2 separate regions of the Homo sapiens genome follow, and region 2 is linked to region 1. Evidence: promoter capture Hi-C in 16 types of primary human blood cells and fetal thymus (Javierre and others, 2016). All regions are on one chromosome and are shown on one strand. Each heading gives the region's core, a stretch centred on a gene start or on the middle of the fragment in contact. The rest is flanking DNA. Distances are from core to core; before and after follow the strand shown. Region 1 holds the start of STARD8 (StAR related lipid transfer domain containing 8). Region 2 overlaps YIPF6 (Yip1 domain family member 6).

The links. The method cuts DNA at HindIII sites, captures the fragments that hold promoters and counts their contacts. A CHiCAGO score of 5 or more calls a contact.
Region 2: a contact is called between a fragment that was not itself captured here and the fragment with the promoter of STARD8 in region 1, in 1 of 17 cell types (M0 macrophages). The highest score is 5.5, in M0 macrophages.

The regions. Positions count from the first base shown.
Region 1 is chrX:68,643,968-68,650,547 of GRCh38, reverse strand. It overlaps STARD8 (StAR related lipid transfer domain containing 8), which reads right to left and starts at 2,882. Exons shown (of 15, transcript NM_001142503.3): 1 at 2,621-2,882. The coding sequence starts at 2,665. It also overlaps the pseudogene COX6CP12. The HindIII fragment of the contact is 1,063 bases long and covers 2,212-3,274 here.
Region 2 is chrX:68,521,671-68,527,682 of GRCh38, reverse strand. YIPF6 (Yip1 domain family member 6) reads right to left here. Exons shown (of 7, transcript NM_173834.4): 6 at 4,766-4,923. Among named protein-coding and RNA genes, the nearest start is that of YIPF6, 26 kb to the right of the region's middle. The HindIII fragment of the contact is 1,796 bases long and covers 3,865-5,660 here.

The sequences.
Region 1 (6,580 bases), core at 1,633-4,132:
TTACAGGCGTGACACCATACCTATAATTACTATTCCTCCTCCTCCTCCTCCTCCTCCTCCTCCTCCCCTCCTCCTCCTCCCCTCCTCCTCTTCCTCCTCCTCCTCCTCCTCCTTCTTCTTCTTCTATAGGATCTTGCTCTGTAGTCCAGGCTGGAGTGTAGTGGTGCAATCATAGCACACTGCAGCCTTGAACTCCTGGGCTCAAGCAATCCTCCCAATTCAGTCTCCTAAGTAACTGGGACTATAGGTGTCCATTATGCATCACCGTGCCCAGCAAATTTTTTTTATTTTTCATAAAGGGTCTCATTATTGCCCAGGCTGGTCTGGAACTCCTGGCCTCAATCAATCCTCTCGCATTGGCCTCCCAAAATGCTAGAATTATAGGCATGAGCCACTGCTCTTAACCTAGCCCAACAGTTTCCAAGAGGCTGACAGGGGTTAGGACATGTTTTCTGGGCATCTGAGAAGTTGGGGTAATGAGTGCAAAGAGATTTAAATCCATGCCAAGCACCTAGAACAGTTAACTGGGGTAGGGGACAGAGGTGCCTCTCGGGCGTCAAACCTCAAAGGCACTTTAATTTTCCCTTCCCTCGTCATTATCATTCCATCCAGCTCTCTATCATTTCTTCCTCTCCCATCCTTATTTCCACTGCAGCTGCCTCCTTCCTGGCCTCTGCATCTCCACTTGGGCCCTTCCACACCATCCCTGCCCACTACTGCTGGAGTGCTTTTTCTAAAACCGTCCACTTAATTATATCCCTATTATGCTGAAATCAGCCCCTTATTCCCCAAAACAGTAGTCACCAGACTTTCAGATTTCATGGATGAGGAAAGTGTTCTTAAATAAATAAATAGGGAAACAATCAGCATGTCGCAAACTTTGTAATTTTGCTGAGGGCAGACATTTAAAAAATTTCTCACTCATATTTTGTAGGAGAAAGATCATTTGAATCCCCACCCCCACAGGAAGGACACAACAGTCTCCAAATAAAGAATAGTCCTTTGAGTTGAATTAATTTAGTTTTATGAACACTGCACGACATTATCCCTACTTTTCTCTCATTCCACCACAGATGGTTGAAAAATCTCATTCAGGACCCCTACTAGATGAGGACCATGAATCCACAGATTAATTCCAAACCCTTTGGGAAGTAGTCTCTGCTTCCCTTTCTCAAGCTCCTATCCTCTCTAACCCTACATTTGAGCCACATCACGAAAGAAGCCTTTCCCCCAGCCCACTACCATTTGACTGCCTCCAAACTCTAGCTCACGAAGTTCCCTCTGCCAGGCATGCCTGGAATGCCCTTCCCCCACTTTTGGACTGACAAACTCTTCTCTTCCTTTAAGCCTCAGGCTCAGCCCAAATGTGACCTCCTGTGAAACCTCTCCAAGTCCCTCCCGGTGGAATGGATCTTTCCTTCCCAAAGGTCCCAGCATTCTTTCATCCTGTCTTACAGTCAGGCTAGTCGTTTGAAAGTCTTCCTACTGGGTTGGACTGTGGGAAACCACACAGCGTCAAGAAAGGCATGGACTTAGGAGCTCAGATCCCAGCTCTGCCAGTCATATCTGAGCAACCTTGTAAATATTTCTTAACTATTCACAGTGTCTTTTCCCTATCTATAAAAGCAGGAAAACAATGGGTTGTGCTGAGGATCACTGCCACATGAATGAATTAAAAGTGCCTAGGTCTGGTACATAGTGGATACTAAATAAATATTAGTTTCTTGGTTCTTGAGAGTGGAATCATGCTTTACACACACTTGTGGGTTCGGCTGTGCTCATGTATCCCCCATGGCCAGGATATAGTAGACACTCAACAAATATTTACTGACAAACTGACTATTTAGCACAATGTCTGGCATATAGTAGGTGCCTGGTAAATATTTGTCACTTTTCTTATATTCTCTTTGAGGACAAAAGCCATGTCCTTCTTTGTCTTCTTTTAAAAAATGGAGATGGGGGTCTCCTTATGTTGCCTAAGCTGGTCTTGAACCCCTGGCCTCAAGTGATCCTCCCACCTCGGCCTCCCAGAATGCTGGGATTACAGACGTGAGCCACTGTGTCCAGCCCTTTTTTGTCTTTGTGTAGCTCCAGTGGTGCCTAGCACAGAGTATGTGCTTTTATATATATGGATAGAAATTAATAATAATAATAATAATAGATACCATTGTTTGTGTGGATGCTCCACACCAGGCATCCTGCTAGGAAGCTTACACACATTATCTCCTGGATTTGCATACATTTGCTATGTAAACAATAACACCAACCTCATCACCCCGTAAGGTTGGTGTTACTATGGTCCTCATTCTAAAGCTGAGAGGAAACTGAGGTTCAGAGAGGTTAAGTATCTTGCCTTTGTGGCAAGATCCAGGAAGCAACAGAGGCGAGTTTTATTAAAAAGAGCCAACTAGCAGACTTGTTTGTATGGGAATGCAACAGAAGGTCACAGAACTGGTTAAGTGACAAAGGTGAGACTTGAACCCAAGCCTTTCTAACTCCGAGAGCCTCAGGTAGTCTCAGAAGCCCGTCTGGTCCGTTTTCCCAGCTGGTGCGCAGTGGTCCACATCTGCCTCCTTCCCCCCTGAGCAGCGGGATGGGCTGGGGCTGGCCAGTCACTTACCTTCACCTTCCTGAAGCAAGACCAGAAAACGTCCAGCAGAGGCATGGTGGCGCGTGGGGAGCTTCTAGGGCCGGCGGGGCTGTGCCGGGCACCGGCTCCTCCCTCTCTGGGGACGAGGCTAAAAGAGGCCCGGGGCTCGGCGAGAGCCAGCCCGGTCCCTGCGCTCCATGAGCCGGCCCCGCGAGGGGAGAGGCGGAGAGCAGCGGTTGCCGGGGCTCAGCTGCCTCGACAGCGGGCGCCTCCCGCCTCCTGGAAGGCCACCGAGGGAGGGAAAAAAGGAGGGAGGGAGAGAGGCCGGCTAAGGAGGAGGGACCAGGAGGCGGGTCACTGATTCAAACTCGGCACCGTTAGCCAGTTGGCTGGAACGGGACAGCAATGCCAATTGAAATTCCCTGAACATTACAGTTCCCCGGCTCCGGGTGTCCGGCCCTCCTGCCGGCTCCCCTGCCAGCCCCGCCACCTGCATGCTGGCATTGCCTGCCTGCTTGCTTCTTGGCTGACTGACACGCCAGCTCTCCTTGGGGACCTCTCGGTAGAGCCCAGACCACACAGGGCCTGTGGAAAGAGTGCCAAGGAAAAGGGGCAAGGAAGGAGAGCCCCGGCCCCAGCAGGACCGAACAAGGTGTGAATGCAGTCCACGGAAGGGGAAAAGCTTGCAGCCTTAGAAGCCCCTCTCAGACAGGTGCCCTGGCCCTGCCTCAGTAGATTATTCTCCAGCCCTCTGAAGTGAGGACTCTTGACTCACTGTGGCATCTCGGAGAGGCCCCTTCCTCCTGGGTCTCAGTTTTCCCAGCTGTACAATGAGATGCCGGGTTAGAGGTCTCTAAGTATCAAATCTGTTTGGGGTTAGGTACAGGGCAAGTCTCAAAGAAACTCCACTCTGGACAATCACAGTTCCTCTCAGAACTCCCCTGCTGCTCCTGGGAGTCCATAGGAAGTCAGGTCTTGCCCCAAAGAGAATCTGAGCCCTCAAATGCCATTTCATCCATCCCCCTGCCCCAGGGCATAACAGCAGCTCTCTCCCAGCTCAGATAGACTGGGTGTATGCCCTTTTCTGAACATCTTCTGAAGAGATGATGGCTTCCCTCCTTTATCCAGTCCCATGCTCAGGACCCTCTAAGCCCAGAAGTTTAGCCTGAAATCTAAACTTGAACCCTCTGGATGCCCTGAAAGGAAAGAAAGTCAGCAGCAGGCAGTTCTAGAGGCTTTCTGGGCAGAAAGCCATTAAGAAGCAGTGACCCTCCCCCTCTCTCAGCCCCTCCCCAGACATCAGAAGGCAGGGTGCCATGGCTGGTAGCCAGAAGGCTCCCAGGGACCCCATGGCAAAAGGCCAGGCTTGGGTCTCTGGAGGCACATGTCATCATGAGGCCCAGAATAACTAACTCTCCCTGGCCTCACTTCTGTTTCAGAGACCCAAGCTAGTCAGGCAAACAGCCAGGTCCTGGGACCCTGGAAGGTCCTAGGTTGCTTTAAGCAAGCCTCTACCTGCCTTCGGGGACTTTCTTCATCAGTGGCTTTGTCCGGAGGTTTGTCCAGAGGCTCTGTGAGGGTCCCCCCAGCTCTGTTTACAACTTACTCTGTGACCCTCAGTTTCCTCGTTTGTACCAAGGAGGCTGCAATCACTGACCTCACCCTCTCTCTAGCTCCGACCTCAGGGGTGTCTCAGATGTGAGTTCTGTTGGGCTGTGTCGGGAAGATGGTCAGCAAGAGCCAAGGTAAGTGGCTTCCAACCCACGTCCAGCTGAGCACAGGCTTATAAGGGGAAGCCCTCTGCATGTGGGGGAGGAATAACACGAGGAGTCAGAGCCCAGAGAGAGTTTTCTCCTTTGAGCATATGCCCTCCTGCCCTGCAGCCAGAGACCTGAGGATGGAGAACTGGGAAGCAACTATTACAGGAAAAGCTGCCTGCCCTCCTAGGATGGCCTCATAGTCTTTCACTCTCTGGAGTTCACCTCCTTCTTTCCATTCCAGCCCCTGGGAGGAGATGTGTCAGCCGTGCCTTTGGGCATTCATTCAGGAGGCATTAGTGCGCAGCACACCACATTAAGCTAAGAAACCAGGAGACTTCAGTTTCAATTCTGGGTCTCTCACACCAGTTTTGTCTTGAGGTGGTTTTAAGCCATGAACTCGGAAGTTGACTGCCTGGATTCAATACTAGTTCTGTTACTCTTTAACTGGTGACCTTGGGCCTGTTACTGCCTTAGTGTGCCCATCCGTAAAATGGGGAATAATAATAGTACCTACTTCCTTTGGGAGGTTTAAACAGAATGAATTAAAGCATGTAGTATAGTGTCTGGCATAAAGTACGTTCTCAATATATGTTATTTGTGGCTCATTCTCCATCAGCCAGGAAGGATATTGGTGTTGAGGTTGACATACCTATCAAGGATAATAACTACCATGGCTTCCAGTGCTTTGATGAAACCTCAGACACATGGGTTTCATATTATTGGAGCATTTGTTGCTTCCCTGAGGGTTGCAGCTCTCTATGTTTGCTCTGACCAAACCAAGGAAGAAGGCATGTGCAGATTTTTACAGAAATTATGATTCCATAAAAGATTTTGAGGAGATGAGGAAGGTTGGTACATTTCAGAGTACAAAGTGATTTTGGAATATAAAGAATTTCTTTGGGTTGAATTACATAGAAGTTGGTCACAGACCTGTGTTCCTGAACTATGAAATATGAATATGTGGGTTAAGAAATGGTGTCTCATCATAAATAAACAATTAACAAATAAAAATAAATCTCATTTGGTATTATTGAAGAAGCAGAGGCTTTGGAGCCAGACAGACTTAGATTTGAATCCTGGTTCTGCTACCTCCTAACAGTGTACCCTTACAAAAGCCACTTCCCTTCCCTAAGCCTGTTTCCTCATCTGTAAACTGAGAGTCACTGCTTACATAAGGGGACTGCTGTTAGGAGTTAATGAGATAACATATGCTTGGCACATAGTAAATGTTCAATAAATGTTAGCTCCCTTCCTCTCTCGTCTTGTCCTGAACGCTCCTGGCTCTCCCTGCTTCTGGTAAAGCAGAAGGAGCATTGATTTGACATTATTAGATATGACTTTAGATCCAAGCCCAGCTACTTTTTTGGTTGCATAACCACCTTAGACAAGTCACATTACCTCTGGGACCTTTGGTTTCCATGGCTATAATAGGAGAATAAGGATAAAGATCTCTACTCACCTCCCAGGTTTGTCATTAAGAAAGAAGGAACAGGCCCGGCGCGGTGGCTCACGCCTATAATCCCAGCACTTTGGGAGGCCGAGATGGGCAGATCACCTGAGGTCAGGAGTTCGAGACCAGCCTGATTAATATGGTGAAACCCTGTCTCTACTAAAAATACAAAAAATTAGCTGGGCATGGTGGTGGATGCCTGTAATCCCAGCTACTCAGGAGGCTGAGGCAGGAGAATCGCTTGAACCCAGGAGGCGGAGGTTGCAGTGAGCCGAGATCACGCCATTGCACTACAGCCTGGACGACAAGAGCGAAACTCCGTCTCAAATGTCTAAAAAAAAAAAGAAAAAAGAAACAAAAAAAAAAAAAAGGAAGAAGGAACATGCAGGACCTGATGTGAAGTGGGTTCTCTCAGTTAACACAAGTCCTCCCTCCTCATATCCCTCTTCCCCATATACCCCATGGGGGATCTGAATCAGGCAGGTTCTCCCTTGCCTCACACTCAAGGCCTGACACAACTGGCATAGCAGTAATGAAATCTGCTTTCTTTGGGTGGCGGATATGGAGAGTGTATCATTCAGCGTAGCTGGAACCCAGAGGGGCTGGGCAACTGTGCACAGGCAAGCAGGGAGGCTAGCACATCAAGCCTCGCCTGATCAGCTGCTTGATTTCTCCACCTGGGAACTGGCACTGCCCACAAGAGGGTGTCTTGTTTAAGGCCCAAGTCACTGGTCTTTGCCAAGGAACCCAGGTGAAGGAGAAGACAGGCCCATTATGGCT
Region 2 (6,012 bases), core at 3,513-6,012, 120 kb after region 1:
TAAGAACAAAGACGGAACATACCAGAATCTCTGCAACAGAGCTAAAGCAGTGTTTAGAGGGAAATTTATAGCACTAAATGCCCACAGGACAAAGCGGGAAAGATCTAAAACTGACACCCTAACATCACAATTAAAAGAACTAGAGAAGCAAGAGCAAACAAATTCAAAAACTGGCAGAAGATAAGAAATAACTAAGATCAGAGCAGAACTGAAGGAGATAGAGACAAGAAAAACCCTTCAAAAAATCAATGAATACAGGAACTGTTTTTTTTGGAAAGATTAACAAAATAGACCGCTAGCCAGACTAATAAAGAAGAAAAGAGAGAAGAATCAGATAGACACAATAAAAACTGATAAATTGAAGATCAACACTGATCCCACAGAAATACAAACTACCATCAGAGAATACTATAAATACCTCTATGCAAATAAACCAGAACATCTAGAAGAAATTGATAAATTCCTGGACACATAATCCCTCCCAAGACTAAACCAGGAAGACGTCGAATCCCTGAATAGACCAATAATAAGTTCTGAAATTGAAGCAGTAATTAATAGCCTACCAATCAAAAAAAGCCCATGACCAGCCAGATTCACAGCTAAATTCTACCAGAGGTACAAGAGGAGCTGGTACCATTCCGTCTGAAACTATTCCAAACAATAGAAGAAGAGGGATTCCTCCCTAACTCATTTCGTGAGGCCAGCATCATCCTGAAACCAAAACCTGGCAAAGACACAACAAAAAAAGAAAATTTCAGGCCAATATCCTTGATGAACATCACTGTGAAAATCCTCAATAAAATACTTGCAAACTGAATCCAGCAGCATATCAAAAAGCTTACCCACCATGATCAAGTCAGCTTCATCCCTGGGATGCAAGGTTGGTTCAACATATGCAAATCAATAAACGTAATTCATCACATAAACAGAACCAATGACAAAAACCACATGATTATCTCAACAGATGCAGAAAAGGCCTTTGATAAAATTCAACACCGCTTCATGCTAAAAACTCTCAATAAACTAGGTATTGATGGAACGTATCTCAAAATAATAAGAGCTATTTATGACAAACCCATAGCCAATATCATACTTAATGGGCAAAAGCTGGAAGCATTCCCCTTGAAAACCAGCACAAGACAAGGATACCCTCTCTTACCACTCCTATTCAACATAAAGTCTGGCCAGGGAAATCAGGCAAGAGAAAGAAATAAAGGGTATTCAAATAGAAAGACAGGAAGTCAAATTGTCTCTGTTTGCAGATGACATGATTGTATATTTAGAAAACCCCATCGTCTCAGCCCATAATCTCCTTAAGCTGATAAGCAACTTCAGCAAAGTCTCAGGATACAAAATCAATGTGCAAAAATCACAAGCCTTCCTATATACCAATAACAGACAGAGAGCCAAATCATGAGTGAACTCCCATTCACAATTGCTACAAAGAGAATAAAATACCTAGGAATCCAACTTACAAGGGATATGAAGGACCTCTTCAAGGAGAACTACAAACCACTGCTCAAGGACATAAGAGAGAACACAAACAAATGGAAAAACATTCCATGCTGATGGATAGGAAGAATCAATATCATGAAAATGGCCATACTGCCCAAAGTAATTTACAGATTCAATGCTATCCCCGTCAAGCTACCATTGACTTTCTTCACAGAAGTAGAAAAAACTACTTTAAATTTCATATGGAACCAAAAAAGAGCCCATATAGCCAAGACAATCCTAAACAAAAAGAACAAAGCTGGAGTTATCACTCTATCTGACCTCCAACTATACTACAAGGCTATGGTAACCAAAACAGCACAGTACTGGTACCAAAACAGATATATAGACCGATGGAACAGAACAGAGGCCTCAGAAATAATGCCTCCCATCCAAAATCATCTGATCTTTGACAAGCCTGATAAAAACCAGCAATGGGGAAAGGATTCCCTAGTTAATAAATGGTGTTGGGAAAACTGGCTAGCCATATGCAGAAAACTGAAACTGGACCCTTTCCTTATACCTTATACAAAAATTAACTCAAGATGGATTAAAGACTTAAATGTAACACCTAAAACCATAAAAACCCTACAAGAAAACCTAGATAGTACCATTTAGGACATAGGCATAGGCAAAGACTTCATGACTAAAACACCAAAAGCAATAGCAACAAAAGCCAAAACTGACAAATGGGATCTAATTAAACTAAAGAGCTTCTGCACAGCAAAAGAAACTATCATCAGAGTGAATAGGCAACCTACAGAATGGGAAAAAATTTTTGCAATCTATCCATCTGACAAAGGGCTAATATCCAGAATCTACAAAGAACCTAAACAAATTTACAAGAAAAAGACAACCCCATCAAAAAGTGGGCGAAGGATATGAACAGACACTTCTCAAGAGAAGACATTTATGCGGCCAACAAACATATGAATAAAAGCTCATCATCACTGCTCATGAGAGAAATGCAAATCAAAACCACAATGAGATACCATCTCACGCCAGTTAGAATGGCTATCATTAAAAAGTCAGGAAACAACAGATGCTGGAGAGGATGTGAAGAAATAGAAATATTTTTACACTGTTGGTGGGAGTGTAAATTAGTTCAAGCATTGTGGAAGACAGTGTGGCGATTCTTCAAGGATCTAGAACCAGAAATACCATTTGACCCATCAATCCCATTACTGGGTAATACTATAAAGACACATGCACACCTATGTTTACTGCTGCACTGTTCACAATAGCAAAGACTTGGAACCAACCCAAATGCCCATCAATGATAGACTGGATAAAGAAAATGTGGCACATATACACCATGGAATACTATGCAGCCACGTAAAAGGTTGAGTTCATATCCTTTGTATGAAGCTGAAAACCATCATTCTCAGCAAACTACCACAGGAACAGAAAACCAAACACCACATGTTCTCACTCATAAGTGGGGGTTGAACAATGAGAACACATGGACACAGGGAGGGGTACATCACACACTGGGGCCTGTCAGAGGCTGGGGGGGCTAGGGGAGGAATAGCATTAGGAGAAATACCTAATGTAGATGATGGGTTGATGGGTGCAGCAAACCACCATGGCATGTGTATACCTATGTAACAAACCTGCATGTTCTGCACATGTATCCCAGAACTTAAAGTATAATAATAATATAAAAACATATATATATATATATATTTTTAGCCAAATAAATAAATAAATGAAAATAATCAGCCAGGTGCGGTGGCTCATGTCTGTAATCCCAGCACTTTGAGAGGCCAAGGCGGGTGGATCACCTGAGGTCAGGAGTTCGAGACCAGCCTGGCCAACATGGTGAAACCCCATCTCTACTAAAAACACAAACATTAATCGGATGTGGTGGCACATAGCTGTAATCCCAGCTACTCGGGAGGCTGAGGCAGGAGAACTGCTTGAATCCAGGAGGTGGAGGTTACAGTGAGCCGAGATAGTGCCACTGCACTCCAGCCTGGGTGACAGAGTGAGACTCTGTCTCAAATACTAATCATCATCATCATCACATCTCTGGGAAATCTTTCCTGAATAATCATGTCTGTCCCACTGTACTGTGTATAAATCTCCATTTCCCACTTAGAACACCTATTGCCTTTAAATGTTTTCACGTCGGGCTGCTCTGTTAGATTGTGAACTCCAAGGACAAAGACCATGCCTAAAATTATGCCTGACGCATAGTTTGTGATTAATGTTTGCTGAATTAAAGTTTCTCTCTCCTATGATTCTACTTCGTGATCACCTGTGAGCCTGGACACTGGATAACTAAGTAAGTATAATTACATTTATGGTAATTATGAGATTCTCAGTGAGAGAATGAGGGGCTCTCCCCATGGGAAAAGCACCCAAGCTTAATATACAGTCTTTGGAATATCAGTTCTGGCTCTCTCAGACCTTTGTTGGATTACTTCTTAGCTTTCAACCATGTTCCAGAGCAATGAGATGTTACTACACTTAAAAATATTAAGCAGTCTGCCTATCCATTAAAGCAGAAGCTAGTGAACACTTCTAAATTTAAGCTGGAATCTTAAGAGAACTTTAGGAATATAAAAACAATGAGCACATAGCATTCATTATCATTGCTATAGGCCCTTCCTAGTCTTTAGCAAAATGTTCTACTGAAGCAGAAAAGTGCTATATAATGATACTTACAATCTACACTGGAAGGTGGTATAGTATAGTTCTTAAAGGTTCATGACTGCCTGGTTTGCAATTTGACTCTCTTACTCACAAGTAATGCAACCTAGGGCAAGCTGCTCAACTTCTCTGTAACTGTTCTTCATCTGTAAGATGGGACTAATAACAGTATTTCTCTATTAGAGTTGCTGTGAGGCTTAAATGGGATAATATATATAAAGCACTTAAACAGTGCCTGGCCTTTGATAAGCAATCTGTAAATGTTATTATTTTTATTTTAATTAGTTTATCAGGAAAAGATCCCAGTCATTCCACAAGTCACCTAATGCCTTGTATATACCAGGACTAGGCTAAATGTAGTGTAATCCACTTTCCCAACCTTTTTTTTTTTTTAAAGAAAGAAAAAAGATGTGACTCTCCACATCTTATAAGTCCAGATATCCAACTCAGATAAGCCCCATCATTGCCTACTCAGGGAAGAGGGTTCTATGGATAATACTATCAAGAATCATATCACTCACATCTAACTTTGGACTTATACTGCTCCTCATCTGGTCTTCATCATTAAATCATGTTTTTGTCTGTTCTGTTATTGTGGAAATAAGTACATACTTACCAACTATAGACCAGGCAAACATCACAATCACCACAAAAAGCCGAACCATGAAGTTTACAGGTCCTGGATCAGCCAAAAGTACCAGCCGGCAAATCAGCATTGCTACTGTCAAGGGAAGTATACAGTAACCCAGCACACAGAGGCTCTGAAAAAAAGATCTTAAAAACAAAATACATTAATAAAGATCATAAATACAACTGATGGGTGTTATGACACAGCTTATTACATAGATTTCTCTATGTAACGGAATGTTGCCTCCTTCTTGGTACATAACATCTACATCCTAACATTAATTATTAAGTACATGCTTTTGGCTGGGCGCGATGGCTCACGCCTGTAATACCAACACTTTGGGAGGCCAAGGGTGGGGGGGTGGATCACCTGAGGTCAGAAGTTCAAGACCAGCCTGGCCAACATGGTGAAACCCCGTCTCTACTAAAAATACAAAAAAAAATTAGCCGGGCATTGTGGCAGGCACCTGTAATCCCAGCTACTCAGGAGGCTGAGGCAGGAAAATCGCTTGAACCTGGGAGGTGGAGGTTGCAGTGAGCTGAGCTTGTGCCACTGCACTCCAGCCTGGACAGAGCGAGACTCCATCTCAAAAAAAAAAAAAATTAAGTACATGCTTTAATTTTCTTTCCCCATACTCTTCCTCCTCTCCTCTCAAATTCCTTAAAAGTCAATCATCTAACACCAGATGATCTGCTCTAGTTCCTACAGATATCTTTCTCTGAACCTCTAAGGTAGTGGTTCTTAATCCTTTCTAGTTTATAGACCTATTATACTTGAGAATTTGTTAAAAGCTAGGGACCACTTGCCCCCCAAAACGTACATACTCTTCTTACACAAAAAAGTCTGCCTATGATTTCAGGGCCTGGAAAGGGCATCTGAAGCTTATCAAAGGACCTCTGATAATTTAAGATAATTTAACTTAACAAGGTTATCTCTGTACAGTGGTAGTGGTTTTAAGAACACTTCTCTTTGGCCCTTATTTAGTTTGATTTTTCTTTAAAACAAAATATGAGGCCAGGTATGGTGGCTCATGCCTGTAATCCCAGCATTTTGGGAGGCCAAGGTGGGAGGATCACTTGAACCCAGGAGTTCAAAACCAGCCTAGGCAATACAGTGGGACCCCATCTCTACAAAAAAAAAAATTTTTTTAATTAGCCAGGCATAGTAGCACATGCCTGTAGTCCCAGCTACTCGGGATGCTGGGGCAGGAGGATCCCAGCTACTTGGGACGCTGA